3 separate regions of the Homo sapiens genome follow, and regions 2 and 3 are each linked to region 1. Evidence: promoter capture Hi-C in human tissues and cell types (Jung and others, 2019). All regions are on one chromosome and are shown on one strand. Each heading gives the region's core, a stretch centred on a gene start or on the middle of the fragment in contact. The rest is flanking DNA. Distances are from core to core; before and after follow the strand shown. Region 1 holds the start of CXXC4 (CXXC finger protein 4). Region 2 has its middle 270 kb from the start of CXXC4. Region 3 has its middle 110 kb from the start of LINC02503.

Region 1 (3,588 bases), core at 293-2,792:
CTTCATTTAGGCATACACACACCACAGTTTCAAACTTGTTATCAACAATTTATCCTCCATAGTTGGTAATGTCTTGATATGGTCAAAGTCTATCTTTTGAAAATTCAAATACAAAATGGTTTAAAATGTCTTTTCAGCTTTTTTTTCTTATTAAAGAAACAAAACATTATATTTTCCTCACTTATCTGAACAATTAATATTGCATTACTCTAGAATAAACACTTAATTTTAATACAAAACTTGTACTCTGCTTGATAACACCAATTTAAATAATCTTAAGTTTTTTCTTTCCTACTCTATAACTTACCTTAGCCACTGTTTTGCTCTTAGAAAAAAAATTATTCAAAAGTATTCATAATTCTGTATCTTATAACTATTTCCACTAGAGTATACTTTAATAGTAGGATAGCATGTGTCCACAAATATTTTATTTGAGGCAGCAGTGAAGAGGTTAATTTACAGCTGCATTTATGAACGAGTTTTATTTATATTTGACGTGCCGTACAATATTTATGTTTCAATTCATAAACTATGTTTTCCCAAGTGGCAAGAAGTGAAATGTTAATTACATACTATTCTAAAATAGACTGAAAGACAAAAGTTTTTGTTTAAGTAAAGTTTGAAATTAAAAAATAGGGCAGTGAGTTAAAAATCTGATTTATTCTTTGGAACTACCAGATGGAATAGTAAAAGAGGATTTTGGGAGGAGAGAGAGAAGAGTAGAGAAGAGAGACAGAGATTGAGATGGATTTTGAAATTGGCCAAGCATCATATCACCGATTTTTTACATTCTGGCATAATAGTACTTCGAGGGTCTGAAGAACCACACCGGTCCGTTTTCCCTTACTTTAAAGATCTAAATGGTATTTTTTTTTAAAGTCTTCCTGGGTACACCAGGAAATTTATTTAAAACCATGCCATTGGGTACGAACTAAGAGCATTCTTCAAACAAACATGACCTTTTCTCTGTTTCTTGTATTGCTCTTCTCAACCCAGCCAGAAATCCCAGACAAGTTTATTTACACACACACCCGCACACGCACGCACACACACACCCCACACGCAGAGTGGCGGAAACGCCCTCTTTCCAACCCTTCCAAACAATTATCTCCGAGAGCAAAAGAAAATAATCAACAGCCCTGTGTGCTGGGCTGAGCCGGAGAGCCGGGCGCGAGGAGGGAGGGCGATCCGCAGGCGAGCAGGGAAAACGTGGCTCCTCTGCCGAGGAGAGGATTTGTGAAAAGGAGCGCTGGCCCGCGTGCGCCTCTTGTTCCCCGTGTAATTTGCAGCCAATCATCAGTAGGTGTCCACGTCCCTGCGTCCTCCTCACCTCGGCGCCAATCACCCCCACCCCCGCGCCCCCGCCCCCAGCCTCCACACCTCCTCCCTCGCCTTTCTCTGTGGCTCCCCTCCCCCAGCAACCGCACACTCGCACACACACAAACAGAGAGAGAAGGGGGGAGGGTGAGAGAGAGGGGAAGAGAGAGAGAGAGAGAGAGGGGAGAGAGAGAGGAGAGACTCCCCGGCTCCCTCCCTCCCTCGCACACAGCGACTGGAGACGGACGGAGAGCAACGCGCTGGGAGAGGAGAGACCACCGACAACAGACCCGCGCTCTCACACATACACTCACACTCGACTCTTTCCTCTCCCCCCACCTCCTCCTCCTTCCACCCCCACCACTAACACCATCTCCTCCTCCTTCTCTCTGCAACAAGAAAAAAAAGCCATTTACAGGTATTTTTTTTGATCCGCATATTTATTTACCCCCCCCCCCCCAACAGTTTGTTTACAAGTATTAAAGTTGTAATTGGGAGCTGCCAAGACACATCTGGATTTGTGTTTCTTTGTGTTAGGGGGTGATGTGCAACTAATTAAAGGCAGACTGGCAGCGTCTGCAAATTCTAAGGCTCCCCAAATAAAAAGAGACTGGTAAGTGATTGTTCTTTCTCTTTCTCTGGCTTTTTTTTCTCTTAAATGTTTGCTGTCCGTTGGGATTGTGAAAGTAGATTATTAATGCTGGACTCCAGCAAGAAAAAGCGTCGCTGTATTAATTTATTAATTAGTCTGCACCCGCCCCTCCTCCTGAATGTTAAATATGACCTTTGATCTCTATGTCTCTGGTAGACCAGACATACAGTATTAGGCATGTAAAGTCACATTGTTTAAAGGCAAAACAGGATCATGAAGTATGGATCTCTAATTTAGCTTTGGCATAGAACTATAGTTATTTGTGTGTGTTTTATTTTGTTTTTAAATAAAATCCAAACAATAGCTGTGGCTTAGATACCTTTTTCATGCTCCAGAGATGCATTGATTAAACAATAATGACCTGGATACTGGGCATAATCATTTTCTACAGTTTCTGGTGGTATTAAACCTTGAGGTAGGAAGAGGGATGGTGATGGCAATCAGAAAAGCAAGGAAAGCTTGTGTTTGGAAACACCACTCTAAGACTCTAAAAAAGGGACGTTAAATTATTTATTTATTTGGAACAAGGTCAAAAGACTAAAAGGTTGAAAATTTTCCCTCCACTCAATGTGATGATATCTAATGCATGGTTGACATAACTAGTTTTTACTGAGTAGCAGTTATTATGGTCTTGCAGTTACAATGTGATTCGCAGAAACTGAAGCTATATGCATATTCTTGCTGTGTCTTCCCTCACCCCTTCCAAGCATCAAGAATATTTAGCCAAGAGCATTTTGGGGGCACCTTTTGTATTGCCCTCAGACCTGAGAAGGCAGCAGTTTTCCCTAATGCGAAACCACAGAGGTGGTTCCTGAGTGATTAGGGACTTGCTGTGATTGAAAGATGCCTGCAAGCTTCTAATCCAGCCTGGGGTGAGGTTCCTTATCTTGATTTACTTTGCCTAATAGGGATTTGTTTACATAAACCCCTCTTTTTAGAGCACCTCATCAGTAGGTCTTGAAGTTTTTGCACTTGGAGTTTGGGCATAACTGGTTCATTAACCTAATTATAAGCATAATTACTATAATTGATAACCATTTTGAACTCTGAATATTTGAGACGGAGACTATTGGGCCCCCATGTAGAATTCCCTGAACTCTGCATTCTAGACCAATCTATGGGCTTCAAAAGATGTCACAAAAAGATATTCTGGCCAAAAAATCTGGAAACAAAGAAACTGGTTTTTTAAGTGAATATACACTTTATGCCTTTGCTTTGCTTCTTAAAAGGCTGTGATGTACTTCTCCCTCTGTAATAAACAACTAAAATACCTCTTCCTAAAGCATAATAATGGCCTGTAAGCAAGGAGATTAATGCAAATACCCAGTTAACATTAAACTTTCCTCTTAAAAAGAGCAAAATTAAAAAATAATTTTGTTATTTTTCTCTGGCAAAGAACACGTTAAAGCCCCCCCCCCTTTTACTCAATGTAAAAATCAGTGATTGTGAGATATCCTTTTCAAAAAGTCCCATGCTTTCCTCTTGTCTTCGGAAGAGACAGCAATCTCCATTAGGAATGATTAGGAATATTCTTATAGAGGCTGCAGGCACTTGGTTTAAAACCTGAGACATTGCTGATATAAATAAATATGTATATATGTAATTATCTGGCTTATCTT
Region 2 (3,626 bases), core at 123-2,622, 270 kb before region 1:
TTTTTGTAGTAGAATCATAAAACATTGGAGCAAAAGGAACCTCTGAGAAATTATGAGAACCCTTTTATACAGATGATGATACTGAGGTACAAAAAAGCTTGTGAATTCTGACAAATATCATAGCATATCAGTGCTAAGATTAGACTTGGAGCTCAGGATTCTTGGTTACCTGCATTTGTTCCTTGAGACTCCCAACATCTTGGAGTTCAAGAGGTCATGTAATTGTTAATATGCAAATGATCTACCTATTTACTTATGGTCTTTTTTCTTTGAGAATAACTACAGTAATGCTACTTATGTTTATTCAGTACTTTACATTTTGTTGAGCAATTTCTATACTTCAGTCCATTTAATCCTCACAGGAACCTTATAAGGGTTGTGTTATTATCACTTCATAGAGTAAGAAATAGAAGTTGGAGAGTCGGTTATCTGTCCATGATCTTGGTTAGCAAATATAATTCTGTCTTTTGAAATAATTGGAATTCTGTCTTGTGAATTCCTTTATTACAAGCTATGGGAAGATGCTTTATAAATGCTAAAGGAGTACACACATATAAAATTATGTCGTTGAGAAATCTTTAATCTTTCATGAAAATGGGTGGTGTCCAAATATAATCATATACAAACACATGCATATACACACAAAGCAGAATAATTATTAATTTAAAATATGTAAAGCTCCTGGCACCATTTGTAGCATAATTGTTGTTTATTATATCAATTTTTTTCAGGTATTTAAAAAATTGTTGAGTACTTATTGAATACCTGGCATTGTTCACAACACTGTGGATCAAAGTCAGAACAAAGTCTTGCTTTCATACAGCTTATTATTAATATTAAAAATTCATGTAATTTATTATTTGCATCCATGACTAGAATTCAAACTGAACATCCTGTGGGCTGTGATATTTTTTATTGAGACAAGCTATGAAAGAAGAAATGACTTTGGCGCCTAGAACAGGTAGGCGAACTGGAGTACACATTCTGTACATTGTAGGTTATTTTCAAAATTGCTCCTCATGATGGAGGGAGACCAATAAGAGGAAAGCAGGTGAAACAAAGAACTTCTGCTTCAAGCACCGAGTTTCCTTACCATTTTCACATAAGTAAAATCACACCCTCATCTCCATTCCTCTTACACCAAGTTCCCAACTCTGCTCAGCCACCAATAAAAGCATCGTCCTCATTTCTAACTTCCAACACTTGCCTACTACTTTTGCCAGCTTGTGGTTACCTATGGAAGACATTTTATGGCCTGAAAATGTCTGGCTTAAGAAGCTCCCCCCCCAAATATGCATAGCAAAACTGATGGTAACATATGGCCCTATATTTTTTCCCTTCTTGCCAGTTCACTAAAATAAATTTACTTTCAATTTACATATTCTTGTCTACATTTCAGAGATTTAAATATATTTGTAAGGTCTGTCCTGTCTATCTTTTTCTGAGATTATGCAACAGCTTTGCATGCTGTTTAGGAAATAACAGAAACTTTTATGATTTTTAGAATCTTTCATTTCCTAAGAAATTTAGAAAAGCTTATGAGATCAGAAAGAGAAAGGCCGAAATGTTAAATTATGTAAAATGTGTAATAATTATTTCTATAAGCTAAGTGGTAATATACTTTTCCAATTTGAAAACAAATCTACTGTCTATAAAACTCTAAATAAAAATTCTATTAGATAGGTACATACTATATACAATTCCATCTAGATCCTTTAGACAAAGGGCATATTTTTAAGATTTATTGGAATGCAAAGGAGATCATGGTGGGGATTTTTCAATGAAAGAAAACCTTATTATGGACCTTTGAATTTGCTAATATGGAAATACTATTATTTTTATCCAGAGATGAGACTCTTGTTCAGTGAGAAAAACTGGCAGGCTCTGTGAGAATGTTTCAAAAAACTGGCTTCCCTCTTCCGGGGTCCAGCCTTAACCATTCTTGAGATTTTCGTCAACAGCGTACTGAATGTGGAAAGGAGTGGTCCTGTAGACAAAGAGTACCCTGTGCCTGTAGCAAGAGTGATCCAAACGTGAAAGGAGGGGACACTTAGCTATGTTTTGCTTGCTTATGGTCTAGATTCTCTTGTGGAGAACAGAGCTGTGACTGGGTCTTTATACATTGATGATAGGACTGGGTCATCAACCTCCCTTACTGATCATGTGGCTACACTCTAGGGAACCATTATTAGGGACCCTTGCCTTTACCCTGAAAAATCATATGGCAGGTAGTATTAAGGATGTTTATGAGGTCAAGAGTAAAGTGAGATATTTTAAGATAATTTTCAGAACAGTGGTTCTTAACTGGAAGCAGTTTTATTTTTTCAGGGGACATTTGACAGTGCCTTAAGTTATTACAACTCCTGAAGGGGGCAACTGGCATCTGATGGGTAGAAGCTACAAGTGTTGCTCAACACTAGAACAAAGAAATCTTGGTTTAGAGTTTTGTTTTCTTTTCTTCTGTTTTTGCTATTTTTGTTTGATGCCCCAAACAGCCATGTTAAAATATAAATATAACCTATTGTTACTGAGTAATGTGTGCAGAGGCACTCCTTATTTTATACCATTTCAGATTTTACTCCATTCTCTCCTTCTTTGCTAAGCCTCTTCTTGCATCTCTCTCCATTTCAGACCCTAATGGTAGCCCATTCCTGACCCCATTCCTAAGCATCATCTCATACCTAAATTTCAACTATAGAATTGGATTCAAATATATTGTAGTTTAAAAAAAAGTTGAAAGTTGAGTGGCCTAGTTCTTTAGACCACAAAATGTTTTCATTGAGTATGATATACCCAAGCTATGATATGTCCATGCACCAGGATGAATTAATGCATTTTACCTATAATACTCAAGTGACTTGTACTCTTTTCTTTTCATAGTGTTTGGCATTATAGGGTAGCCAATCTTCAGACAGAGGAAGTGCCTATTGCAGCACCAAATTTGCTGCACATATTTATGTATATGTAGGGCATTAAAAGAAGGAGATACTAATGTAATTGATAAAAATGAGTGATTATTTTAATTAAAATGCAAAAGAATATGGCAGAGCATCAAATAACATTCCTTTTTGCAAAACAGAATAGATAATAAAATGTTCTCTTCTCAAAGAAGAGAAGTAGGGTAGAATTTTTCTCCAAATTTTCAGAAAGGCATCTATTTCTTAAATTGGTAAAACTGTTAAGTCTCTGCTGTTTAGGAAATAACAGAAACTTTTATGATTTTTAGAAGCTTTCATTGACTTGCGGTCAAAAGGTAGAATTAATACAGAGTAGAAGAAAAATGATAAGACTCGATGGTGATTTGAAATTGTAAAGAAAGAATTTTACATTTAAATTATACTTAGAGACATAGAAAGACGAGATTAAAGCCACAGTGAGGGAGCGGTGTTGCTGCATACGTGCTCAATCACGAAGGTTTAAAAACAGTATAATTAAGCTTGCGATCTCAAAGACAGTAGTGTGTCTGATTATGGGGAAGAGTCTTATTGTGAAAGATGGAGCAGATGTTCATGCTTGTGAGACATGGAGACAGAGATGTCTGATTTTGAGCGATCAATACTTTATGATTGTGAAGTTTGACATTTCCAATCTGATAAAGAAAAATATCTCCCATGTGATACAACATT
Region 3 (3,528 bases), core at 39-2,538, 430 kb after region 1:
TGACTAAAACACCAAAAGTGATGGCAACAAAAGCCAAAATAGACAAATGGGATCTAATTAAACTAAAGAGCTTCTGCACAGCAAAAGAAACTAGCACCAGAGTGAATAGGCAACCTACAGAATGGGAGAAAATTTTTGCAATCTGTTTCTGACAAAGGGCTAATATGCAGAATCTACAAGGAACTTAAACAAATTTACAAGAAAACAAACAGCCCCATCAAAAAGTGGGCAAAGGATATGAACAGACACTTCTCAAAAGAAGATATTTATGTGGCCCACAAACATATGAAAAAAAGCTCATCACTGGTCATTAGAAAAATGCAAATCAAAACCACAATGAGATACCATCTCATGCCAGTTAGAATGGTGATCATTAAAAAGCCAGGAAACAACAGATGCTGGATAGGATGTGGAGAAACAGTAATGCTTTTACACTGTTGGTGGGAGTGTAAATTAGTTCAACCATTGTGGAAGACAGTGTGGCAAGTCCTCAAGGATCTAGAACTAGAAATATCATTTGACCCAGCAATCCCATTACTTGGTATACCCAAAGGATTATAAATCATGCTACTATAAAGACACATGCACACGTATGTTTATTGTAGCACTATTCACAATAGCAAAGACTTGGAACCAACCCAAATGCCCATCAATGATACACTGGATAAAGAATATGTGGCACATATACACCATGGAATACTATGCAGCCATAAAAATGGATGAGTTCATGTGCTTTACAGGGACATAGGTGACGCTGGAAACCATCATTCTCAGCAAACTAACACAGGAACAGAAAACCAAACACTGCATGTTCTCACTCATAAGTGCGAGTTGAACAAAGAGAACCTACAGGCACAGGGAGGGGAATATCACACATTGGGGCCTGTCAGGGGGTGGGGGTCAAGGGAAAGGATAGCATTAGGAGAAATACCTAATGTAGATGACAAGTTGATGGGTGCAGCAGACCACCATGGCACATGTATACCTGTGTAACAAACCTACACATTCAGCACATGTATCCCAGACCTTAAAGTATAATAAAAAAAGAAGTTATAAGAAATATAAAATAAATATACATTAATTTTAAATGGATTTTCTACTTGTAAAATGTTGCATTAAGCTTGTATGAGTTAATAATTCATTCATTTTATTTCTTTAAAAAGAAATTATAAGTCCTCCAATAAACTATAAAAGAAGTAACATTAGCTGAGGAACACTAACATGATTTCAGATAGAAGAACACCCTGAGTCAAAGTAAGACAAATGGGAGATTTATTCTAACTTATAAGAGAATATTAATTCTCATGATTACCAGACAGAACACTCTAATCCCCAAATTAAGCTCAAAGAAGGTAGACTGAAAAAAATCTAATAACTAAAAGAAGTATTTTTTTCAGAGATATGGCCTAGTCAGTTGGTGTTTGATAAAGTGGACAGAATGTTCTGCTAATCAGGATAAGGTAGATCAGGGCTATTTGAACATTGTGGCTCTTAGCAGAGTAGTGAGTAGAAACCAGGTTTAAACATAGATGTTTCAATGGGACATTGTATAAGAATATAAACTTATTAGAAATCTTGCAAGTAGGAACAGTCTACTTCTACTATAGATTTTCTCTTGTGTTTTGTTTTAATATTAATTATGTTTGTCATTGATAAAATGATAAACATCTTAACTCCTTGGAAATTAATTTTGACTGTATAAAACCTAAATGGTAATTTTTGGACTGTAAATAGTTGTTTGATTCTGAATCACTAGGTTGGGGTTGTTTCTCAGTAAATAAGAGGGTATAGTTACGTAGAAGAAATACGTCCTAGCATTTGATAGCACTGTTGAGCAACTACTGTTAATTATTATACATTGTATATTTCAAAATAATTAGAAGAGAAACTTTGAAATGTTCCTAGCACAAATAAATGATAAATGTTTCAGGTGATAAATATCTGAATTTCCTTGATTTAATCATTATACATTGTATGAGTATATCAAAATATTACATATGCCCTATAAGTATGTATAACTATTATTTATCAATAAAAAAACATTTGGATAGAAAAAATATAGCATCCCTCTCCTTTTTTATTTTGAAAATAATTTTTAAATTATGAACAAAAAAATTAACATGATCAATGGCATTCAGATCATTGAAGTTTTTCTATCAACTGTGTTTAAGACAAGAAGGATAGGAGTATGCAAAAGGAACAAGACATGTATAAGGAACTTGTTTTGTAAAACAAACCTGGAATCTATTTGAGCTTTTCTTCTTTTTTTATGCTTTGCAGTAGTTTATACAGCATTGGTATTGTTCAGTGTTTCAGCATTTTTTTATTATAAACTGAAAAATTATAATTGTATATATATTGGGGTACATGGTGATGTTATGATATATGTATACAGTGTGGAAGGAATAAATCAAGTGAATTAACATATGACCTCACATACTTGTTATTTTTGTGGTGAGAAAAATTTATCTTTTAGCCATTTGAAGTTTGCCAATCATTATTATTAACTGTGATCACCAAGCTGTGGAATAGATGTCAAAAAACTTTTCCCTCCTAACTGAAACTTTATACCAATATCTTGCCATTTCCCCACCTCTTAGCCTCTGGTAACCACAAATCTACTTTCTGTTTCTGACTTCGATAGTTTTAGATTCCACTTAATCATATGGTATTTGTCCTTCTGATCCTGGATTATTTCACTTAGCATAATGAAATTTTCAAAGAACTAGTACTCTAAAACCTGTCTGGTTTTAGGAGTACATTTGATGAGATGTAGTTTTTTCTCTGTTATTATTATTGAACATATAGTTGATTATAATAAATTCCCCAATATTTGGTCCCTAAATCAGTTTCAAATTCTTAGTATTAAAAAAATGAAGTTGATATGATTGATTAAAAACAAATTATAAATTGAAAAACCATAAATTTATAAAATAAATTAGAAAAATGCAGTTATTAAAAGAAAACCTTAGAGATGCTGTGTCTGATTAATATTTGTATACTTTCAATCTTTGTACACTTTTGTGGCAGAGATTGCTAATTGCCTTATCAATATTCATTACCCTTTTCTTCTATTAAAAAAATAGGCATTATAATTGAAGCTATGGCAACGAACCATGACATTTCCAGTCTCTTTTCTTGCCGGGTAGGGTCACATGACCAATTCTGGCCAATGGTATATGAGAAAAGTTGAAGTGTGCAACCTCTGAAACTTGCTTGCCCTCAAAAGAAAAGGAGCATACAAAGTATTTTCTTCTTGTTTTACCCTTCCCACAGGCTGTAAGGTAGATACTAACTGATTTCAAGCAAGCTGATGAGGTAAGAGTCTAGAGATGGCAGAACAAAAGGAATGAAAGTGTTTTGTGTCCCTGACACCTCTAGGGCACCTTACCAATCCCAAACCACCAGAAGAGTTTCATCACAAAGAAATTAATATTAATCTTGTTTCAGTCAATATACTTTAGGATACCTTGTTACTGTGGCTTACACTACATCCTAATGTAACTTAATTTTAGTACTGTGAAGAAT

What was found. The method cuts DNA at HindIII sites, captures the fragments that hold promoters and counts their contacts. A contact is called where the count stands out against the background at its distance.
Region 2: a contact is called between a fragment that was not itself captured here and the fragment with the promoter of CXXC4 in region 1, in 1 of the 25 tissues and cell types used here (mesenchymal stem cells).
Region 3: a contact is called between a fragment that was not itself captured here and the fragment with the promoter of CXXC4 in region 1, in 1 of the 25 tissues and cell types used here (hippocampus).

Annotation. Positions count from the first base shown.
Region 1 is chr4:104,492,848-104,496,435 of GRCh38, reverse strand. It overlaps CXXC4 (CXXC finger protein 4), which reads left to right and starts at 1,542. Exons shown (of 3, transcript NM_025212.4): 1 at 1,542-1,735. All of the region lies in intron 1 of CXXC4-AS1 (CXXC4 antisense RNA 1), which reads right to left. The HindIII fragment of the contact is 3,942 bases long and covers 1-2,625 here.
Region 2 is chr4:104,764,536-104,768,161 of GRCh38, reverse strand. No RefSeq gene overlaps it. Among named protein-coding and RNA genes, the nearest start is that of CXXC4, 270 kb to the right of the region's middle. The HindIII fragment of the contact is 3,923 bases long and covers 1-3,333 here.
Region 3 is chr4:104,066,363-104,069,890 of GRCh38, reverse strand. No RefSeq gene overlaps it. Among named protein-coding and RNA genes, the nearest start is that of LINC02503, 110 kb to the right of the region's middle. The HindIII fragment of the contact is 8,203 bases long and covers 1-3,528 here.